Linked DNA regions of Homo sapiens: regions 1, 2, 4, 5 and 6 are each linked to region 3. The links are contacts of gene promoters, found by promoter capture Hi-C in human tissues and cell types (Jung and others, 2019). All regions are on one chromosome and are shown on one strand. Each heading gives the region's core, a stretch centred on a gene start or on the middle of the fragment in contact. The rest is flanking DNA. Distances are from core to core; before and after follow the strand shown.

Region 1 (3,464 bases), core at 440-2,939, 480 kb after region 3:
ATTTCTCATGCCTGATTCAAAATCACAAAACTCACCAGCTCATTTTGTTACTGAGAAAAAACGAGTTATGACTTAGAAGGGACCATGAAGGAAAACTAAGGCAACCTGTATAAAGCACAACAGAATATTAAGTGTGCATGTCACTTGGCTGGGACACCAGAGTATCACAGGCAAAGGGGTAGAGTTGTGGTGGATGCTGAAAATGGCTGGGTAGAGACCCTCAAGGGAGACTAGAGATAACTGTGGCTAGAAGACAAAAAGACCTGTGGGTAGGAGGTAGTGAAAGTGATTAAATCCTCCTCCTGAAGCATATTAGGGAGCAGTTGAGTCATGGGTATCAGAATGAGCCCAAGCAAAATGGTTCCTGTAATATTAAGCCATTACAGGCAAGCAAGGTCAAGGACGCTCACAAGAGGAGAAATACAGAGATGTGACAGAGAGATTTCCAGCTTCACATAGTAACGCCCGAATTGATGTTTTATCCTAATTAAAGCTTAATATAACTCTGTGGTAAGAGTTTCTTGCCCCATATATTCTGAGATATACTTCTGAACAAAGGAAATGTGCCGACTGAGAAATATTCCATGAAACTAATTGCTTGATAAATGTGTGCAAAAACACATAACACAGAGATATTAAACAGGAAAGCTGGGAGAAGTTCTGTGCTAAAGTCAATAGAATAAAATCAAACCAAAATGGTAGAGTGTGGGATAATGCAAAGAATGTCAATTATACAATTCCATTGTATAATACCACCATATAACTAGGTTCTATAAGTCCACACACACACCTAGGGAGGTAGTCTTATTTACCTCTTTCAACTTTTATGTTCTGACTAATACGTATTAGAGTCAATATTGGTATGTTGATTCCATATGACTTGTTGATTAGGGATCAGATGAGAAGATTATTCTAATACTGAAATACTCCTTTTTCACCTATGACTTAATCACCTAACTAAAGTTTACTGTGTTCTTTGGGAATCCAAAGTGGGTGGTGGGAAAATGGAATTGTCCCTGGCATCTTTCCCAAACTACACATACCCACCCATCCATAGATGCTGATGGGCCCTTAAGGGAAACCTCCCACCTTCCCACCCCTCCAGAGGCACAGTGCTGCTGACAGACACAAATTATCAGGTGCACTGAGTGAGGAAAAAATGTTAGAACCATCAGCAAAATAGGAAAAACCACTGGACTACAGTCTGATGGAACTGGAATTGAATTTGGGTTCTCACCCATACTAGCTCTTTGTTTCAGACAGTTACTTAACCTCTCTGCTCCATTTCCTCATCTTCAAGGAAAGGGGGGACAATAAGAGCTAATTCCCAAGTTTAAACATTAAATAAGATGATTTATGTGATAAAGATATTAAATGTTTGTAAAATTTGAATAATATTGTGCCATTCATAACTATCTATGTTATTTTAGCAAACAAATATGTCAGATTCCACCCACTGTTTTTATTTTATTTCCCCTTATTTTCATTTATATCACCTTCCACTGGTTTGTACTAAAAGGATTTCCTGGACTGTATGTTTTTAATGTTTGTAGAAAGAAAGCTCTCAAAGGAAAGACTCTTTCCTCTATATCCAATGGAATCATTGGCACAAAATTTAGGAAGTTAAGAAGAAATAACATTCTTACAGTTATTTGATTCAACATGGAAATTTCTTTTAGGATGAACTTTTTGCTGATGTCATTGGCTCGGAGTAAAACTGCCAAATATAAAGATATGATTCCAGCATTAATAGAGCAAAACTGTGAAACTGTACCAACCAACCTGAATTGTATTCTCATTAGTGCTGTCAATTAATGAAGTTAGACAAACGATTTTCCCACATTACAATGTAGTCTACTCAAAAGCCTAAGGAATGCCACCTGCCCATCAAAAATGAATAAATGTGACGTAATTCCATTGTATAATACCACCATATAACTAGGTTCTGTAAGTCCACATACACACCTAGGGAGGTAGTCTTATTTACCTCTTTCAACTTTATATTCTGACTAATATGTATTAGAGTCAATATTGGTATGTTGATTCCATATGGCTTGTTGATTGGGGAATCAGATGAGAAGATTATTCTAATACTGAAATACTCCTTTTTCACCTAATGGTTTAATCACCTAATTAAAGTTTACTGTGTTCTTTGGGAATCCAAAGTGACCATTGGTGAACCTGACAAAAAAAATTCATCTTCTTAGAATTTTGTGATGTAATTAATATTTATTTTGGAACCCTCAGCACCCCAGAGAAGAGTTAGGTATAGAAAGAAACTCTAAAAAGCATATAAGTGCCCCAGAAGATTTTCCCCTTCCTCCCTGTCACATACCTCTTTGCCTCAACCCACTTAAATTCTGAGAAAAAAATCAATACAGTTAAATGAATGTAAGTATGGGTTTATCATTGTCTCTTTAAGTAGAATTATGTCCACGTTTTACAAGTTCCATTTCTTTAGGTGTCAAAAACTAGTTTTATTTAGCTGAGGTTGAGAATATTGGGCAGAGTCAAGGTGAGCATCTAGTGAAAAGCTTTGGAAACACTCCAGGTATAAAGCTGAAGACATTAATCACCAGAATAACAAATGAAATTGAACTGTTCTAGAATTGGGCTCCTTCACCTCATTTTCCACTTCTTCTTCCAGTGTGGTCATCAGGATTCAATCCTGGTCCTATGCTGTCCATAAGATAATACCAAAGGGAGCAGACACTCAACATTTACTTCTTTTTATCTCGACTCTAATCAAGAAAATATGACAATATTTCTGATATCTCTTCTCAAAAAACTTTTTTTTTACTCTAAGTTCTGGGATACATGTGCAGAATGTGCAGGTTTGTTACATAGGTATACATGTGCCATGGTGGTTTGCTGCACCTGTCAACGCATCATCTAGGTTTTAAGCCCCGTATGCATTAGGTATTTGTTCTAATGCTCTCCGTTCCCTTGCCCACTACTGCCTGACAGCCCCAGTGTGTGATGTTCCCCTCTCAGTGTCCATGTGTTCTCGTTTTTCAACTCTCACTTATGAGTGAGAAGATGCAGTGTTTGGTTTTCTGTTCCTGCGCTAGTTTGCTGAGAATACCTGAAAGCTTTGAAAAATCAGATTATCATTAAGAAATAATTCTTAAACTCAAAAATTTTGCCCAAAGAACTTCCTTCTCTGGAGACCTGAAAGAACAAATTAAATACTCATCATAAATATCCAAGTGCAAAACTACCAGTTTTGCATTTATAAAACTACCAGTTTGCACATGAGGAAACTAAGATTCAGGAAGTGTAAATGATTTACCCCGGCATGAAGCTAGTTAATAGAAGAGCAGGTTGCTCCTTACTCTTACTATCTTACTTTTTTGTTAATCATTTATACACAAATCCTGAGTACCTACCATATCCATGGCACTAAGGGCTGTGAAGGGAACAAATCCAAAACATTCATGGTTCCTCCTCCCAATATTATTATT
Region 2 (3,813 bases), core at 1,264-3,763, 460 kb after region 3:
CCATAGTACTAAGAGAATTAATGCAGGAACAGAAAACAAAACACTGCATATTCTCACTTACAAGTGGTAGCTAAATATTGAGCACACATGGACATAAATATGGGAACAACAGATGAACAATAGACACTGGGAACTACTAGAGGGGGGAGTTCAAAAACTACCTATTGGGTACTATGCTCACTACCTCGGATGATGGGATCCATACTCCAAAATTTATCATCATGCAATATTTACATGTAACAAACCTACACCTGTACCCTCTTGTGTCTAAAATAAAAGTTGAATTTTTTTTTAAAAAATTAAATCAATGGTATTTTCTCTTTCTCCCAACAACTGATGTGCACACCTGGTCAATTAAGCAGTTATCTTCCCAGCAATTCTAACGCTTACACATGTGGATGTTCAAATAAAATATCATAAAGCTAGTTTCAGACTCTATTTTGAAAAGTAGCTCTTTCTTTTAATCATACTTGGAATTTTAAAATTTGTGGCAGAATGACCCAGAAAAAGGGTACTAGAAGGAGTACAGTGAATTTATCGAATGCTTCAGTGGGGTGCAGCAAGTTGAGCATTTAAGACTCTGAGCTCTCATCCCCATTTCAAGCTTTGTAGCATCACTTTGATCTATCTTACTGCTTTGGAATATGTTATTTGGGGAAAAAAATTTTACTTGAAATAAAGTTAGAAAACTATTTGGATTATAAAAGTGAATTTTCTATGATCTGTGTATGAACCTATTTTCCTTTTGGGAAATTTCCTTGTGGACCCTCCTTGCACATCTGCTACTTGAAACAAGGTTGTTCTTCTTTTGTTCACCAGATTCTTTCTGCAATTCGCTGAGGACTATAAGCCTGAAATAGAAAATAGATTTATAGCTTTATTATAATGCAATACTTTGAATTTAGGCACAACTAATATGTTTGAATTGTCTCCGCAGGATTGTTGGGTTAGAGATACAGAATAGTGGCCCTGAAGTTACCCTCCCTGTGTTTACATTGTAGCTCTGCTAATTTCTAGTTGTGTGACCTTAGAAAAATCAGCTCATCTCTGTGCACCTCTAGCTCCATCTCTGTAAAATGAAGTTAATAACAGAAGCTATTTTATAGCACTGTGGTAAGGATTAAATGAGTTAATATATGTGAAGCTTTCTGAAGAGCCCTTGGCACATAGTACTGAGCTCAGTAATTGATAGCTGTTGTACTATTATTATTACTTACACATGGACATCCCAATCCTTGAACGTATGGTATTATTCATAAGGGCCAGCACTATTCCTAGCCAGCTCCATAAAAATGAGAGCTGTATGGTTTTCTCTTCTTAGCAGCCTGAAGCAACAAAGCATACATCTAGTCCTTGCCTTTATGGATATCCACTTGCAGGACTGGAAATTCTTGCCTGATCAATCACTGTAGAACTCAATTGTTTAAGAACTCAGAAGCTTCCAGAATAATGCTCATCTATCCTCTCTACCTTGTATGTGCTGTTCCCTGCCTTTGAGATCCTCTCTTGTCTTCTCCATTGGACCAGAAGAGGATAGAAGGTGGCCCTAAACCTTGCTTTTGTTTTTCTTATATTAGGACACAAAGTTGAGTAAGAGAGAGTCCCCTGGAAGACTTTCAGTTAAGAAGGAATGACAGTCCAGTGAACCTGTGGTTACAATAAAAGTTTAAGAGTTTTTATGGCAGTGGATAATATTTTTTAATTTATTAATGATTTTCTTCACTCTTCCTTGCATAAGGCTGTGCTCTACTAAACCAGATACACTGTTACCTCTAGGAAGATTTTGTTTTAACTAGAATGCAAAGAAAAGGCCACCATTCAGCATTTGATTTGCAACAGAGAATCATGAGGCCCATGGCAAAGCTGTGGTCATGAAAACCAGGGTTTTCTCAGAAATCAAGGTACTTCTAAAGGTAAACAACTTCTCTTTCCATATCAGGAGCAAAACTTGAAATTTGAAACATATGATTTTACTATAACCTTTAGATAGTAAAGCTTATATTATATTATATTATATTACTATGTTGTAAAGCTCTTATCTTTACTGTCTAAGTGAACCTTAGATAGTAAAGATAAACCTCCAAATTGTCTGAGTTTCAAGTAAAGCTTAGATAATAAAGACAAAAATTTTTCTTTAGAGAAATTTAAGGATTATGATTTAAGGGAAGTTGCCATCTATCCAAGGAGTAAAAATAAAGTGGAAAGGACCTCTGACTTGAGGGATAGAAATCAGACAGGGAGAGCTACAGAAGACTAGACAAGGGAGAAGATGATCATGAGTCCCTGAGTTTATCCCCAGCACAGGGGCCAGGTATATAGAGACTGGAGGGTTTTGCAGCAGCAGAAATTGCCACAAAACTCCAGGCACATTGAGACAGAACCCACAAGCATTTTTTCCATGCTAGTGCCCTGCTTTCCTAGGCTATCCAAGCTGGCCTTGGAGTGGTAGAACAACAAAGGGAAGTGTCCACAGAGACAGGCCTGCTATGGGACAACTGACTCCCATGGTGCTCATATGATGTGGAAGGAGTCCAGAAGCTCCTGAATGCCTCCGGGAATGTGGACCATGAGTGCTGGCTGGTGAACTTACTCAAGGCAACGATGGGCCAAGCTGGGGATGGAATGGAGTCACTGGGAATCTGAAGCACCGCGAGAGCCAGCGTGGGGCCTGATCAACAAGAGGTGATGGCCAAACACTTTGGATACTGTTTCAGAGCAACACGCAAACCATGTTTTCCTCTGCCCTCATACCACAACAACAATCATCAACACAGAAGAAGACTTCTGTGACCAAAGTGTGGGGGTTTTTCCCCGGGTATCCTCCAATCAGTTCTAACATTATGTACCCAGAAACAGCAACAGATATCACATATGGAGGGCTCAGTCCTACAAGTCTGCCCCCTTCTCCCACCAGCCTCAAGTCCAGGCCTCCAGAACTCCTGACCGATCAGCTTCAAGTTGGGGTTCCCATGACCCTATCTTTGGGTTTGATTTATTTATTAGAGCAGCTCATAGAACTTACAGAAACATATTTACTGGTATGTTATGAAGGATATTTTAAAGAATACAAATAAACAGCCAAATGAAGAGATACATAGGGAAGGTCTGGAAGCATGGACAACTGTGTCACAATGTGACTGTACAGAAAGGATATGACCTGAATAAACCCAGCAAGGCCTGCCTGCTCAGGGTTTTCTGGATCTCTCTGTGCAGCATTCCTTCCTGCGGAGTATGGGGTAGAACCCACTCTGGAATGAGGTTCTCATGACCCACAATCAGATGAGAGTCCTGCCTTGGGCAGGTGAAAAGAAGGCAGGAGAAGGTCAGAGAGAGAGATTCCATTTTCTGAGGCCTGTTCCTAAGGCCTAAAGTACCCCAACATTGTGACAAAAGAATATAACAAAGATTATGAGGTTTCTGAGCTAGGAACTGTATATGAAAACCTGTGTGTGTGTGTGTGTGTGTGTGTGTGTGTGTGTGTGTGTGTGTGTGTGTGTGTGTAATCATATCACAAGAGCCATCATCATGCCTCACCCATCCTGGAAGAATACAACCTGAGTGGAGTTACAACAGCCATACGCTGCTCAGTAGCAGCTTTAATGTAAATAGAGGCTGACTCCCAAAGACCAGGTGGGATGAGCTTAACTAGAGCCCCAGAAGCAAGCAAAGAAGGACAGCACATAAATTGCCCACCTCTCCCCTGCTTCCTGGATACCATTAATTCACGCAAACCTTCCCTTGCTTCCAGACTCTATCTACTCCCTAGAGAGGGCAGTTAGAACATTTGAAGTGTCAGATTATTTATCCAAAACA
Region 3 (3,744 bases), core at 1,245-3,744:
AAGTTATTTCATGCCACTGCATGAATCAATATTAAATACCTTGGAGTTACTAAAAACTGGAATACTGGCAGAGATGTGCTCAGCAATTATAAAATACGAAAATGTGAATACTCTTTTTCCACGTTTCTTTTAATAATGGCTAGAAATGAGGATGTTCTTTCTAGGTAAACAGAAATAGTTTCCTAAAAGCTAAAGGAAAGATGTAATATCTTAAATGCTAGCAAAGTGTCATGGATCCATAGCCATAGCTCTCTCAAAAGAAAAATGAAATACATTTTGAAGCCTAATATTACCTCCAAACATTTTATTAGCCTAACAAATTGCCAGAGCCATTAAAAAATTTTTTTATCAAAGTCAATACAGTGCTCTTTTTCCTTATTCAATTAAAAAGCATAACTTGCTGTCATTTTAACCAGGCTGCACTTTAATCAAACATGTCTTAAATGACACATTTTTTCATGTCAAAGACATAACATAAATTTAAAAATTAAGAAATAAATTTTTTTGAAAGCTAAGTTCAGATGACATCTGGCCCTGCAGTGAAAGAGTTAACATCCAACTAAGCTGATCTGCACTTCTGATCCATTACATTTCTCACAAGCTACCCTACAATGAGCTGAGCAAGTATCAACTGTAATTTGATCCTAGAGTTTATGGAAAAAAATAACTGCACATACTCAACATGCACATTTAATAAAAATCTGTTTCAAGAGAAACATATCCAATAAACACAATTTAAGGCATATTTAACTGTTCAATTAACCTCAAATCTGCAATCCCTTTGCTCTCACGCTCTCAAATAAAATAGGAAGAAAAAAAAAAGCAGCAGCCCTACTGCAGGGAAAAGAGGCTTGAAAAACAACTTTGATTGGCACTTGGCCTGACCCACAGAGGAAGAAAAACAGTTTTTGGACAAAGAGCGCAAATATTTGAGCTTGCTTACTTATGTGCTTTTTTCTTTCTTCCTTTTTTAAAAAAAAATGTAGAAAGAACAATCCCAAAGTGAACCGTATTTAGAGATGTTGACTAAAAACGGTACCATATTCATCTCCGCTTTCAGTCCCGATGCATTTGCACAGCTCAGCAATTTTAATTCATTTGTAGTGAACAAACAGAAGCATCTCACCTAACGTTTCCACTTAATAAAATGTAAAAATAGAGTTTGAATACGAATAAACTGATTATAATATTACTTTGGGGCAGCTGTTAAAATCTGATCAAAAAGTCTAGAGACCTTTTTTTCATTCCCTTCCCCATCCCTCTCGCCCTTCCCCGCGGGGCGATTAAGCCAAGTAAGCTAAACAATACTGGAGTAAACTTTCTATCAGTCACTCTAGGAAGCAGCAATAAACTGATGGTGCGCCTCATTTTTCTGGATCAACACGGGGGCAGGGGGGTGCTAAGGAGGAATAACCCACATCCACCTCAGTCTTCTCCTCCCCCAACCCCAGCCTCAGGAACTGGCCAGGTCGAATTGCATTTCCCATGGGCATAAAGTTCAAGATGCTTTACTGGTTCCTTTCGAGACTGAACTACAGACACAGGACTACCATCCAAACAATTTGAAAACGGGGGTTGTTGAGCAAGGCGCGCAAGGCAGAAGCAACCGAATAAACAAAAACAACACTCGCAAGAGTTAGCCACAGCAAAGAGGGGCCAGGTTCCTCGGGATCCGACCCAGCTGCTCTGATTTCACACCGACCTCCATCAACAGCTAAACTGCACAGGGAGGAGGATCGAACGGATCCCTCCCGCCCTCCGCCCAAGGAGCCGACCCGGGGTAGCAAGGTAGGGAAATGAGCCGTAAAGGAGAGCAAAGGCACCAAATAAAAGGAACAAGGGAAGAAAAAATATCCCAACCCCTCCAGACTTGGGTCTGTCCCGGCGGAAATAAAAAGCCGCAGTAGTCCAAACCCTCCTGCCCTCAACCCACGCCCCCTTTCTCAGTCCCTGCGGAGGGACGGTGCCCGGGGATCCCTCTCAGCCTCCCCCAGTGCGCGCCCGGGGACGAGCCGCCCGAGCCCCGGCCGGCAGGAAGCGACCCTCGCCGGCAGGACCCCGGGCCGAACCCGTACCTTCCGCAGCACTTTCCGGCAGTTGGTACAGAGCAGGTAGTTGGCGGCGGCCGACGGGCTGCCGCCGCCCCGGTTCATCGTGGCTGCGGGCGCCGAGGCGAGAGCGGGCGGAGGGCCGGGTCCGGGCTGTCACTGCGGCCACTGCAGGGCCGGTCCGTCCCCCCGCCGCCAGCCGCGATTCCGCCTCAGCCTCCTCAAGGCGGGATGTCGGGAGGAGAGGCGACTGCCTGAAAGCTAGCGGCACTGCCAGAGGCGACCACCGCGGCAGCTGCCCCAGCGACGGCGGAGACGGCGGCGGCTGCTCCTCACCGGCCCGTTGTTCCACCCGCCCCCATCTTCCAGACCCCCGCCCCCGCCAGGCTAGGACGAGCAGCCGCCACCGCTGCCACCGCCACCACCGCCGCCGCAGCGCCTCAGTGCGGCCCCGCCTCCGCCGCCCCACCACCTTCACCACCTCCACGCTCCGGTACCGCCCCTCCCGCCAATCGGACAGCTCCGGCTACGCCCCCAGGGCGCTAGCCCGCAGCCAATGAGCAACGAGAGCCCGACTGGGAGTCGCGCCGGCCAATCGCAGGGGCCGAGGAAGCCTTGAATCTCCGGGCAAGTTAAGTTTATCTCCGAGGCTCGGAACTGAAGGGAGGTGGCGGTTAGCTAAGTAGTAGGGTAGCAGGGAACAGTTTGCTCTCCTCTGCCAATAAGAGGACGAGGGTGTGTCATATGCAAATATACTGCCCTCCAAGCCCCACCCCCAAGATAAGCTACGCCCCCTTCTCTAGGTCCCTGCAGAAGTGGTGAGGAGAATGAGATAAATAGTTGGGAGCTAGAGCTCGCTAGAGAGTCTAAGATTGAGCTAAATATTTCCTGATCTCTCGAGAAAGGGGGAGGGGAGTGGGAGGATTAAATGTTCCTTCCTTCAGGGCAGTGGTTAGGCTTTCTCTCCACCAAAATCTAACTTTAGCTGTAAAGAAGACTGCAGTTATGTAGTACTTTGTATCCAGGGATCTCAAAGAACTTTACGCATCATTTATTGTGAACCTTGTTTTGCAAAGATTTCAGTTACTTGAGGCTTGGGAGGCGGATAGGGGATAAATGTCTGAGTTATATATATATTTACGCAAGTAATCGAGTTTGAGGGGAGAGACACAAAACCTCTGGTTTAGCGGTTTCCTCTTGTTTGTGAAGCACCTTCTAGCAGTTATCTTAGAGATGTAAGTTCATTTACTTGTCCAGCACTAAAAGGCCAAAGGGGCTTGTTTTCTCACCCAAAAGACCTTCCTGAGGCAGCTGTTCGGATACATGCAGAGCACAGCGCCCTGCTCAGAAAGGAAGGTTCAGAGAACAAATTGTCGTTTAAAACTATTGGGACAAACCTACCTCTTCTAAAGCTTAAAATGGTAAGTCAGGGTTTTAGCGTCCACGTTCTGCGGAGAGAAGGCAGACTTGACTGGGGAAAGCGCAGGCTGACCGAGTGTGGCGGGACAGACGGGTAGGGGAGCCAGGTCTCCCGAAGGGGCTAGCAATGCGCGTCCGAGTCGAATGCGGGTTCCCGATGCTAGACGCCCGCAACCTGCTCCCGAGTGAGAACAAAGGCCGGCGCAGAGCGAGAACCTGATTGGTGCCCGGTCCTCACTCGTGTCCTCCGGGCCCCAGAGATAACTTGCATCGCCTA
Region 4 (3,641 bases), core at 1,030-3,529, 500 kb after region 3:
TTCTATTCAGACTTGTATCCTCTTCCTGCCATCTCTACTGCTGCCACCCTCATGTCAAACATCACTAGCTCTAGCCCAGATTATCCCAATGGTCTTCCAATGGATCTGCTCACAGTCTTTCTCAACACAGCAACCGGAGTGATCTTATTAAAACACATGTCAGACCAATTTATGCCTTATGATAGCCCATATGCCTTACATGATGTACTTCATTCCCTATTATATCTTTTGCTGCATCATATGCTACATCCCTCCTTGCTCACTCCACATCAAGTACAATCAAGTACCCTGATTTCCTCAGCAAACACTACAGTCATATGTTTGTTTGTTTGTTTGTTTTTAATTCAGCTATAATTCACATAAAATGGGCAAATCTTAAGTGCTAAGTTTGTAGTTTTGACAGTTCTATAGGCCCATGTAACCACCATCCATTTCAAGATAGAGAACAATATTCTGTCACCTCAGGTTCTTTTCCAGTCAATTCCAATTCATCCTTATACATAACTACAATTTTAATTTCTGTTACCCTAGATTCTCTTTGCCTGTTTTTAGACTTAATACAAATGTAATCAAATAGTATATATTATTTTATGTCTAGCTTTTTCTTACTTAACATAATCTTTTTGAGATTCGTTCATGTCATAGTATGTATTCATAGTTTTTCTTTTCTTTCAATTAATGACTAGTATTCCATGGTATGAATATATTACAGTTCATTTACCCATGGGGCTAATATGAACAAAGATGCTATGAACATAGTGTACAAGTTTTCGTGTAGACATACGTTTTTATTTCTCTTGGGTAAATACCAAGGATTGAGATTATTGGGCACGGGCTAAATGCATGTTTAACTTTATAAAGAAACTGTGCCTTCTGCTCTTTGCATTTGCTGTTCCCCTTACCTGGAATGTTCTTCCTCTAGGTATCTCATGGATAACTCCTTGGCTTTCTTGTCTTTGCCAAAAGTCACCTTCTCAATGAGCTCTACCCTATGTAATCCAACTCCATCCTCCACCTCAACCCTAGCACTCTCACTATTTCCAGATTTTCTCATAGCACTTTTCACCCTTTGGCATGCTATATAATAATGAATTATTATTTATTGATTTTTTTCTCCCACCAGAATGAAGGAAAAAGCTTTTTTTAAAAAATCTCTGCTGTGCATTAATAAGTCAACATTGCCTAGAACAGTGCCTGACACTTAAGTAGAAAGTCATAAATAATTGCTAAATGGAAGGAAAGAAGGAAAAAAGGAAGAAAGGAAGGAAGGAAGGGAGGGAGGGAGGGAAGGAGGGAAGGAGGGAAGGAGGGAGGGAGGGAGGGGCCAAGAGGCAATGAATGTCTGGGGTGTCTCTCAGAATGCCAGGTCATAGCTGCTCTGTGGAACTTCTCAGGTCTCCAAAGCTCCAGAGTTAGTGTCCAATTGTTCCTAGTGAATTTCAGCACTCACTCTTGTCCCAAGTGTGCTATCTGTGGGCTTTCCAACCTGTGCCTCTTTAGCACATGCAAGGTGTTCTCTTATGTAAAAAGCCTCTGTATTTTGACATGGAGTTACTAAAATATCTCTTCCATCAGAAGTTAATCTGCTTGGCTTCTGCTTTAGTGTGTCTAGATATGCCTATCTGGTCTCCCCTTGCTCCTCCTCGAAACACACACCACCCAATTATGAAGGGAGTTTCAAGCTTCTTTCCGTGTCCCATAAGCAGCACTCAAACCCAAACCCCACCCCTCCTCCATTTCCTCAGACCCTGAAGGTGTTCATATGCTCTGTTTCCAGAATTCCTCCAGCTGAATAGATTCATGGCTTGTGGTTTTGTTTTTTTTTTTTTCAAAGCATTTACTACATAGAAGTAGCTATTATTTACTACATAATCTGGCAGAAAATTCTAGAAAGCTACATTTCTTTTGCCCTCTAATACAAGCCCTCACTAATAGAACGGCAAAACTGGGATTGCTATTTACTTATTAAGTCTTCTTCCTTTGAGAAAATCAGAAAGAAGTAATGGGCATGTGTGGGGGCAGGAGCTATTTGAGAACTCACTATTCTTTCCACTCAGTTTTGCTGTGACCTTGAAACTACTCTAAAAAAAAGATAAGTTTATTAATAAAAAAAAAAAAAAGGAGTCACGATAGCTCTGCCTTAAAGATAACAGTGAATTCATGTTAAAATCACTGCCCATACATTTTCCTACTGGTCCACTAAAGTAAATGTGAACTCATTCAGAGTTTAAGCCAATTCTCTCATCAAGTAAGTCAATGTTTATTACAGTTTAACAGTGCTGCTTGTCTCAGCAGTCTTAAAGTGATTATATCAGTGCCTGTTTTGGTCAGGGTATAGCCAGGAAAATGCAATTTACTTTAAGTATTTACAACGGAGGATACATAATACAGGAAGTTGGTTCCACAGATGATAAAGGAGCCGAGAAGCCAAATGAAACGGTGAGAGGAAACCCTTAGCAACACCAGGGAACCACTCCTCTCCCTGGGCTGCCTAGATAAAGGGAGACAGCAAAGTTACTAGAGTCCAGGTGTCAGGGTTACTCAGCAGAAGCCAGTTTCAAGGCAGGCCTGTCAGACAGGAGCTAGTGCCATGGAAAATATACAACCTAGCCAGAGATAACACCAAAAATATATAATTAAAGAGAAATTCCCTGGTACCTTCATTTCTGTCACCGCTCAGTCTGCTGCAGGTCTTCCCACTGGCCACACACAGTCTGAAGCCCACTGACACATAAGCCTGGGAAACAGCCTACAGGTATCAGCCCTTCAAGCAGGGGAACAGCAAGGAATAGATCTGAGGCAGCAATCAGCACTGTGGCAAACTAGAATAAACACACAGAGCAGAATTTGAAAAACGTTCAAAAATTTCTATCAGAGTAGATGATTCTCTGTATGGTGCTATTTCAGAACATTTCAAAATACATGTATTAGCATAAGGAAAGGTTAATGGCTTATGCTCTATTAGGTTCAGAGAGAGAAAGAAAGAGAGAGAGAGAGAGAAAGGAAGGAAGGAAAGAAGGAGGGAAGGAAGGAAGGTAGAAAGGAAGGAAGGAAGGAAGGAAAAGAGAGAAAGAGAAAGAAAGAAAGAGGGAGGAAGGGAAGAAGGGAGGAAGGGAGGGAAGAAGGCAGGAAGGGAGGAAGGAAGGTAGGAGAGAAAGGAAAGAAAGAAAGAAAGAAAGAAAGAAAGAAAGAAAGAAAGAAAGAAAGAAAGAAGAAAGAAAAAAGAAAGAAGATTAATTTACTTAATGGTAAACATTATTAAAATAAATATTCAAGCAAAGCTTGAAAAAGGGAGTCTTGTTTAATTCCATCCCACCACAATCCTATTCTCTCACCCTCCTATGGCACAGAGATTAGTGGTAGTGAAGTGGAGAAAGGAGGTTAGAAGTTTCCATGTTATTTCTGGCTATTTCAGTTGCAGCATAGAAAAAAAAAAAAAACACTAACAGTAATAGTTCAGATCTTATCTTGATACTAATCTTGATGATTTGTGTATTTTTAAAGACATGAAACCTGTAAATATAATTGGGAGGTAAAGTTTCTTTTTCTTCTATTTGACATCATAAAGTTATTTTAACAAAAAGAAAATTTAGTCTAAAAAAAGATTGTGCTCCTAAATTCAAGTGTTCGTCTACTTCTTA
Region 5 (4,018 bases), core at 576-3,075, 370 kb after region 3:
TACTCAAAAACATTAGTATGTTATCTCTTTCTATTCTCTAATTAATGAGCTTTCTCCTGAATTTCTGTCTGCCCTATTCATTGTACACTAAATACTATATTTTAATACACACACACACACACACACACACTCTTTCAAGTTAATATATATTTACATATATACACATATGCTCTTTCCATTAACTTGTAAAATATATGTATGTGTGTATATGTGAATGTGTGTGGTGTTGTGTAGACATATATATAGATATATTTGCTTTTGTATACTTTTTTCAATTAACTTGGAAGAGTGTATGTATATGTGTGTGTGGTGTGTGCTTGTGTGTGTGTGTGTGTGTGTGTGTGTGTGTGTGGTATGTTCCTCTAGCATATCTGTTTATATATTAAACTTTATAATAGACTTTCCAGGCTTATTGTGAGAGCATTCGGGAGATAATGTAGAAAAGCACATGAGCTCCCTGTACATAGTAGGCAATAAATTCATATGTTTTCCTTCCTTCTTTCCTTTCTTTTTTTCTTCCTTCCTTGTTTTTTTATTCCTCTTAGCAGACATAGTCTCTAAATATTGATTGATTTATTAAGAGATTATATCCTTTATTCAAATTATATCCCAGTTTACCTGGCACAGAGAGGGCACCTGTCTTGGTCCATTTGGGCTGCTTTAACAAAATACCATCAACTATGTGGCTTAGAAACAACAGGAATTTATTTCTCACAGTTCTGGATGCTAGAAGTCTGAAATCAGGGTGCCAATGAGGTTGAGTTCTGATGAGGGTTGTCTTCCAGATTTGACTGCCTATTTCTTGCTGTGTCCTCACATGGTGGAGATAGTGAAGGGTCTCATTCTGGCTCTTTCATAAAGACACTCACGCCGTTCATGAGGGCTTTGCCTCCATGACCTAACAACCTCCCAAAGCTCCCACCTCCTAATACTACTATCATGAGGGTTAGGATTTCAACGTATAAATTTTGGTGGGACACAAACATTCAGACCATATCAACAGTCAGCACATAACTTATCAAATGTTTGTAGAGTAAAAACAAATAATAAAGTATTATTTTCAGCGTATCATTATTATGGATATCCACTACATTTTTAAGGATCAAAACAGCTTCTGAACAATGTGAATTCTCCTACAGTCTTTAGTCAACAATAACCACAAATATTTCCCTTCTTTAAGGAGATTTGAGGATGAGGTCCTCACATTACCTTCTCAATGAATATTGAGTGGAGCAAAGGAGGTCTTCTTTACAAGATAAACCTTATTTTGGAAATAATATTCTTACAAGAACAACATTTTTGTATCTGGAGAAGAAGCTTTGGTAATAAGATACAAGGTATGTTCAGATAATCAGATAATCTCTGAGGTCTTTTTTAGGGAAAGATGGGTCTTTGCTAAGAATAACACTATCCTGATGACAATGCAGCTTCTAAAAGGTGAGTTTAAGCTTGAGGGTGTTCCACATTGATTTTGTAAACACTGATAGAAGCATTCATATTCTGAACAAATAAATTACATTTATACAGAATAAAGAGGGACTGATAAAATCAAATCACAAAACCCAGTTGTCTTTTTTGGAGGGATGGGTGGGGGGAATAAGCATATACATTACAGAGAAGTATGATGTGGGGCTAGGAAGGAAGGAATAAAGTAAGGATGGTAAAACATTTTGACCTTGGGAATTCCTTCAAATTAATTGGTATTTTTATCAAACTAATATCTGCACATAAGAGCAAAATTTTAAAAATACTCAAAGACATAATAAAAGATAGCATAATAATAAAATAATTCATAATAAACACAATAAACATAATAAAAAAGAGCTCTAGCCCTCTTCACCTTCAAGAGGCAATCACTTTCACCTTTTCCAGCTTTTTTTAAACCTGGTATTGACCCTCACATTTCTAAGCAATATGCTTAAATGGCTGCATTTTTACTTCCACCAAATTCTTCTTTTAAAAAAAAAAACTGTATATTTCTAATAGAAAATAAATGCAGATGTACAAAATCTAGAGCAAAAGTTTGGAAATGAACTAAACATTTAGTCTAGTTCGACTAGTTAAACAAACTCTATGACTAGTTCGTTTCCATCTTTTGCTCTCACAAAAACACATTGCAATCAATATTCTTATGTATATATTACTGCACATATATTCAAATATATCAGTAGGATATATTTTTGAAAATAGAATTTGTGTCAAATATCATGTGCATTTTATATTTAATAATTGCTGTCAAATTGTCATCCACTGAGGTTATATCAATTACAATTCCATTAGAAATATTAGAACAATTTTTTCTCTACAATCTTGTCTACAGATTGTTATCACATTTTTTGATAATGGTCAATTGTCAAAGTGTTATCTTGGGTTTAATTTATATTTCTCCTACTATCTGAAAAGTTTAGCATACTTTCATATGCTTAGAAATCATTTATAGTTATTTTTGAACTATTTATTCATAAATTTGATTCTTTATGAGGATTTTTAGCTTTCCTTAAGGGAAAGAGAAATTTACACATCAGGAGAGTATCACTTTGTGATAAAAATTACAGTTTTTTTTTCTTTTTTAAGTTTTTATGTTTTTCATCTAAAAATGTTTTTAATGTAAACTTGTCATCCCTTTCTTCTAAAACTTCTACATTTTGATTCTGCTATGTATTAACTTACCAATTTTGACATTTTTTTTTTCTGACACATGGTCTCACTCCATTGCCCAGGCTAAAGTGCAGTGGCATGGATCACAGCTCACTGCAGATTGCAACCTCAAGCTCCTGGGCTCAAGTAATCGTCCTAAAACTATGGATAATTGAAGGACCAATGAAATAGAGAATGTGGCGTTTGTTGAGAAGTGAAATATGAAAGTGTCAGTAATTTCATAAAATCCATACAGCACAAGTGACATATGCTTAAGATGAGCCCTCATGACTTACTTATTGCTTACTTTTTTTAGTCTCTTTCCTAGATTAGTAAATAAAGAAAATGATTCTCACTTTCAAGATTAGCAGGAGATTTAGAACTAATGTGTATTAGTTTCTTCACCCAAAGGAGGCACTGAAAAATAATAGCTAATTCTTTTTGAATATTGGTAATGTTCTCTGAAAACACTCAGCTCGTTGCACACACTGAAGCAAGTCACAATTACTGCTAAATTATAACAATCAATGAGAAGTCTAACATGTTGCCCATGTTTCTCACACCACCATATTTTTTCCTTATTATCTCTCAGATGTTTTAACTCCCATGTTTTGATTTTATCTGTCATTTTTTTCTTGCATGCCTCTACTTTGGAGTACGTTTCTCCTTACTTTGAGTTGCTATTTCTCTGAGGGGCACCCCACTTGCCTCTACTTTTATATGTCATCCAGAAAAAATAGCTCACTGATAACAGTTATATTTTGGGTTTAAAAATAATCTTAAAATATAGAAGCTTTGCTCCCAAAGCCAGGACTGTTGGGAAAATTTCCTTTATAGTGTTCCTTTGGTGGGCATAGTCTGTCTTGAAATTCTGAAGGATACATAAATCCCTTTAGGCTTAAAGGAAATGGCTGGTCCTTAAATTCTTAATTAACCCTAAAAGGATCAATTTAATGTGGAGAAAACATCACACATTTCTCCAGGCATGCTTTTGCAGAGGCATTGGCAGCCCTAGAGGTTGTCCAATGACATAATCTCATATATGTCCAAGCAATACTTCTACACATGAATGTGGCAAAGAGGATTTTTCTTTCAGAATAAAATACAGTATAAATGTTATCCTTTATTCACTAAAACCAATATTTGCAAAGGAGTTGAAGACTTTATTTCTAAGCTTCCAAAATATTTAGATACAATGGTGAAATCTACTTAGACAATGACTGGTTCACTAAGCTAGTTTTTCTCTTCTCTACTTTGTAAAATTATCATATTTTAAGGTCTTTCTTATAAAGTAACTTTGCCAATTAACCCCAGGGAATTACACATTCCCACCTATGTTATCAGAGAACTTTTTTTCTCTGCTGTGGTATCTATGTTCATA
Region 6 (3,613 bases), core at 505-3,004, 300 kb after region 3:
TGATCCAACTTGAGTTGTTTTTTTATAAGGTTAGAGATGAGGATCCAGTTTCATTCTCCTATATGTGACTAGCCAATTATCCCAGCACCATTTGTTGAATAGGGTGTCCTTTCCCCACTTCATGGTTTTGTTTGCTTTGTCAAAGATTAGTTGGCTGTAAGTATTTGGCTTTATTTCTGGGTTCTTTATTCTGTTCCATTGGTCTATGTGCCTATTTTTATACCAGTACCATGTTGTTTGGGTGACTATGATCTTATAGTATGGTTTGACGTCAGGTAATGTGATGCCTCCAGATTCGTTGTTTTTGCTTAGTCTTGCTTTGGCTATGTGGGCTCTTTTTTGGTTCCATATAAATTTTAGGATTGTTTTTCTAGCTCTGGAAGAATGATGGTGGTATTTTGATGGGAATTGCATTGAATTTGTAGATTGCTTTTGGTAGTATGGTCATTTTTACAATATTGATTTGACCTGCATGCATGTGCTTCCATGCAGTGGACATTTAAATTTGTTTTGCTGTTTTTTAAAGCTTGGTTTCTTGCCTGGTAAAATGGAGACAATTAAGTCTATTCCCAAGGTTTTTGTGAATATTAAAAATAAATTTTGGTAATTTTTATTATTGAATTAAATTGAAAAGGGATATAGAAGAAATATCAAATATAGTCCCTACTTAGTATCTTGACCTGAAATTAAATGGGAGCTGATCCCGTATTTCTGTACATTTTATTTATATAAAATAAATAATTTTATAATATTCACATTGTTAGTACTCAATAAAGTTTAATATTTTAGAAAATGCAAGATGAAAGACATTCTATTCATTTAATATCTTTTAAAGGAATCACAAATGCTTTTTAAAAACATTTTAACAGGTGCCAAAGAAGAAAATACATTACAGTTTTATATACATCTACTAATTATGTGCATTAACTTTTTCAATGACAAGTTTAATCTGTCAATCATGGGATGATTAGAAATAAGGTTTTACTGATGTGCAGTCTCTCCATGTATAACCATGGTAGTTTTATATATTTTTACAACATTTAGCCATCATTGTACCAATTCTCAAATAAATATCAGATGATTTAGACTGGAAGATGCCGTTGCTTGAGTGGTGGTGGGGGGCCAGGGAAATCAATTTCAAAAAGCAAAAAAAAAAGCATCAATTTTAGCCATGGTTTTACCCACTGACACACAATGAGGAAATAAATCACAGGAAAAGGAATAGAGCAAACTGTTGCTCATCTTCTAGGAAACAGACTCAAGTGGGTAAAGTGATTTGCCAAAGGCCGCATAGCAAGCAAGTAAGCAGTACCAGGTTTTGGAATTGGTTCTTCATATTCCATGACTTTTCCACAGTGTCACTGCATAAATGGTCTCTCTACTTCTCATTTCCAAATAATTTATCAGCTTAGCCATCCCACTCCACTATTCCGCTCACCTCTCTCTCTATCTGTGACAGCTATTTTTCCAAAGCCATTAATTACCTTCTAATTTTCAAATCCAATTACACTGATACAATCTTTTTTTTTTTGTTTGCTCTTTAGCATTCTACCATGCACTACTCCATCCTCCCTGAAACTTTTTTTTCCTTAACCTTGATTGTAAACAAAATGACCTATCCGGTTTTTCAAATCAGAAACCTGGCAGCATCACTGTTATTAATGACCCCTCTTCTAACTTTCTCTTTCAAATACACACAAACACACACACACACACACACACACACACACACACACACACACAGCACTGTTTGTTGGGTCAAATATGTCTTCTAAATATCCTTCTATTCCCCTGTTCTTTATCTCAACTGTCTCTGCCTTTGTAGTCTCTCTCTTGAATGAAATCTGTTGCAACAACCCCCTACATGTCTAATTTGTTTCTAAGCCACCTATCTTTCTCCATGCTCCCAACCACTCCATTCTTCAATAGACCTCAAAACATGACTCCATGGAAGACACAAGCAAAAGGAGAAAGGTGTGTGCTATAGTTTGGATATTTGACCCTCTAAACCGCATGTTAAAATTTGATCCCCAGTGTTGGAGATGAGGCTTAAGAGGAGGCGTTTGGGTCGTGGGAATACATACCTCATGAACAGATTAATACTCCCCACCAGGGGGAAAGAGGACTGAATTATCACTCTATTAGTTCTCCCAGGAGCTAGTTGTTAAAAAGAGCCTGGCACCTCCTCCTCTCTCTTGCTTCCTCTTTTGCAATGCGATCTTTCCACATACTGGCTCCATTTTCCCTTTCACCATGAGTGGAAGCAGCCTCAAACTCTCATCAAAGCCAGATGTTGGTGTCATGCTTGTACAGCCTGCAGAACCAGAAGCCAAACAAACTTTTTTTTTCTTTATAAATTACCCATTCTTAAGTATTCTTTTATAGCAACACAGATGGACTAAGGCAATGTGCTATTATATGGCAGAATTTCCAACACATCTTTAATGGATCAACAGCCCTTAGAAAGGATCTGTAATTCTAGAGGCACCATTTTATCTGCTGGACCTTCCCCCAACTCCCCCCAACTTCTCTCCCTCAAGTCCTTTATATTCTGCCAGGAGATCCAAAGAGAGGAAAGTTATGAGCCCAGAGAGCTATAGGGAAGATATGAAAGTGAGATGTGGGTTACGGATGCACCACAGGATGGTGGAAATAGCACTGGGCTTGAGTTATATCTCAACCCCTTCCTAACCATGTGGTTTTTGGCTTGTCCCTGAATTTCAGTTTTAAAATAGTGTTATAATTAAGAATACCTGCCTCTGAAGTTGTAATGAAGTTTGAAATAAATATTAAATGTAATTAATGTAAGAGCATTTTGTCATTCCCATATATATTACATAAACATTAGTTATTTTATTATCAGGTTATAAATTGAAGGAAATTTGAAAACTATAGATAAAGAAAAGAACTGGGTGTGCTAGCTCATGCCTGTAATCCCAGCACTTTGGGAGGTCAAGGCGGGCAGATCACCTGAGGTCAGGAGTTCCAGACCAGTCTGGCCAACATGGTGAAACCCTGTCTCTACTAAAAATACAAAAATTAGCCAGGCGTGGTGGTGCATGCCTGTAATCCCAGCTACTGGGAAGGCTGAGGCAGGAGAATCACTTGAACCTGGGAGGCAGAGGTTGCAGTGAGCCAAGAATGCGCCATTGCACTCCAGCGTGAGCGACAGAGTGAGGCTCCATCTCAAACAAACAAACAAACAAAAACAAAACAAAAAACCGAAAAGAAAACAGTGGTGGTAACATAAGTGAGATGCGTAAAGATATAATGCGAGATGCGGTAGAAATTGAGTAATCCCAGTGGTTTCAGTCAAATTGAGAGAAATTACTGCCTACAGTTTACAAGTTTAGACTGTACTGGGGTGGAATTCTAACTCTGTTGTTATTAGTTAGGTCCTTCAGACAAGTTAACAATGCTAAAAATATAATTAACAATAATATTCCCTAGCCTTTATTAGTATATGTGCTAGGCACTGTTCTAAATGTTTACATGGATTATTTCTGAGTTTCAGTTTCTTCGTGTATCAAATGGCATTAGTAATTATTGTACCTTCCTCATAAGATTACTGTCATAAGTAAATAAATTAGCATGATACTGGCCATGTAAACAG

Evidence for each region. The method cuts DNA at HindIII sites, captures the fragments that hold promoters and counts their contacts. A contact is called where the count stands out against the background at its distance.
Region 1: a fragment that was not itself captured here is called in contact with the fragment with the promoter of SESN3 in region 3 in 3 of the 25 tissues and cell types used here (dorsolateral prefrontal cortex, hippocampus and lymphoblastoid cells).
Region 2: a contact is called between a fragment that was not itself captured here and the fragment with the promoter of SESN3 in region 3, in 2 of the 25 tissues and cell types used here (dorsolateral prefrontal cortex and hippocampus).
Region 4: a fragment that was not itself captured here is called in contact with the fragment with the promoter of SESN3 in region 3 in 1 of the 25 tissues and cell types used here (liver).
Region 5: a contact is called between a fragment that was not itself captured here and the fragment with the promoter of SESN3 in region 3, in 1 of the 25 tissues and cell types used here (aorta).
Region 6: a contact is called between a fragment that was not itself captured here and the fragment with the promoter of SESN3 in region 3, in 1 of the 25 tissues and cell types used here (heart right ventricle).

What each region holds. Positions count from the first base shown.
Region 1 is chr11:95,711,730-95,715,193 of GRCh38, forward strand. No RefSeq gene overlaps it. Among named protein-coding and RNA genes, the nearest start is that of FAM76B, 76 kb to the right of the region's middle. The HindIII fragment of the contact is 3,685 bases long and covers 1-3,464 here.
Region 2 is chr11:95,693,528-95,697,340 of GRCh38, forward strand. No RefSeq gene overlaps it. Among named protein-coding and RNA genes, the nearest start is that of FAM76B, 94 kb to the right of the region's middle. The HindIII fragment of the contact is 3,278 bases long and covers 875-3,813 here.
Region 3 is chr11:95,228,708-95,232,451 of GRCh38, forward strand. SESN3 (sestrin 3) reads right to left here and starts at 2,495. Exons shown (of 10, transcript NM_144665.4): 1 at 2,076-2,495. The coding sequence starts at 2,153. LOC100129203 (a long non-coding RNA gene) reads left to right here and starts at 1,479. Exons shown (of 6, transcript NR_110295.2): 1 at 1,479-1,788; 2 at 2,418-2,866; 3 at 3,345-3,469. RefSeq lists silencers at 2,049-2,358, 2,369-2,518 and enhancers at 2,874-3,513, 3,514-3,744. The HindIII fragment of the contact is 13,238 bases long and covers 1-3,744 here.
Region 4 is chr11:95,731,757-95,735,397 of GRCh38, forward strand. No RefSeq gene overlaps it. Among named protein-coding and RNA genes, the nearest start is that of FAM76B, 56 kb to the right of the region's middle. The HindIII fragment of the contact is 4,246 bases long and covers 157-3,641 here.
Region 5 is chr11:95,601,346-95,605,363 of GRCh38, forward strand. No RefSeq gene overlaps it. Among named protein-coding and RNA genes, the nearest start is that of FAM76B, 190 kb to the right of the region's middle. The HindIII fragment of the contact is 3,589 bases long and covers 32-3,620 here.
Region 6 is chr11:95,529,071-95,532,683 of GRCh38, forward strand. No RefSeq gene overlaps it. Among named protein-coding and RNA genes, the nearest start is that of FAM76B, 260 kb to the right of the region's middle. The HindIII fragment of the contact is 5,707 bases long and covers 1-3,613 here.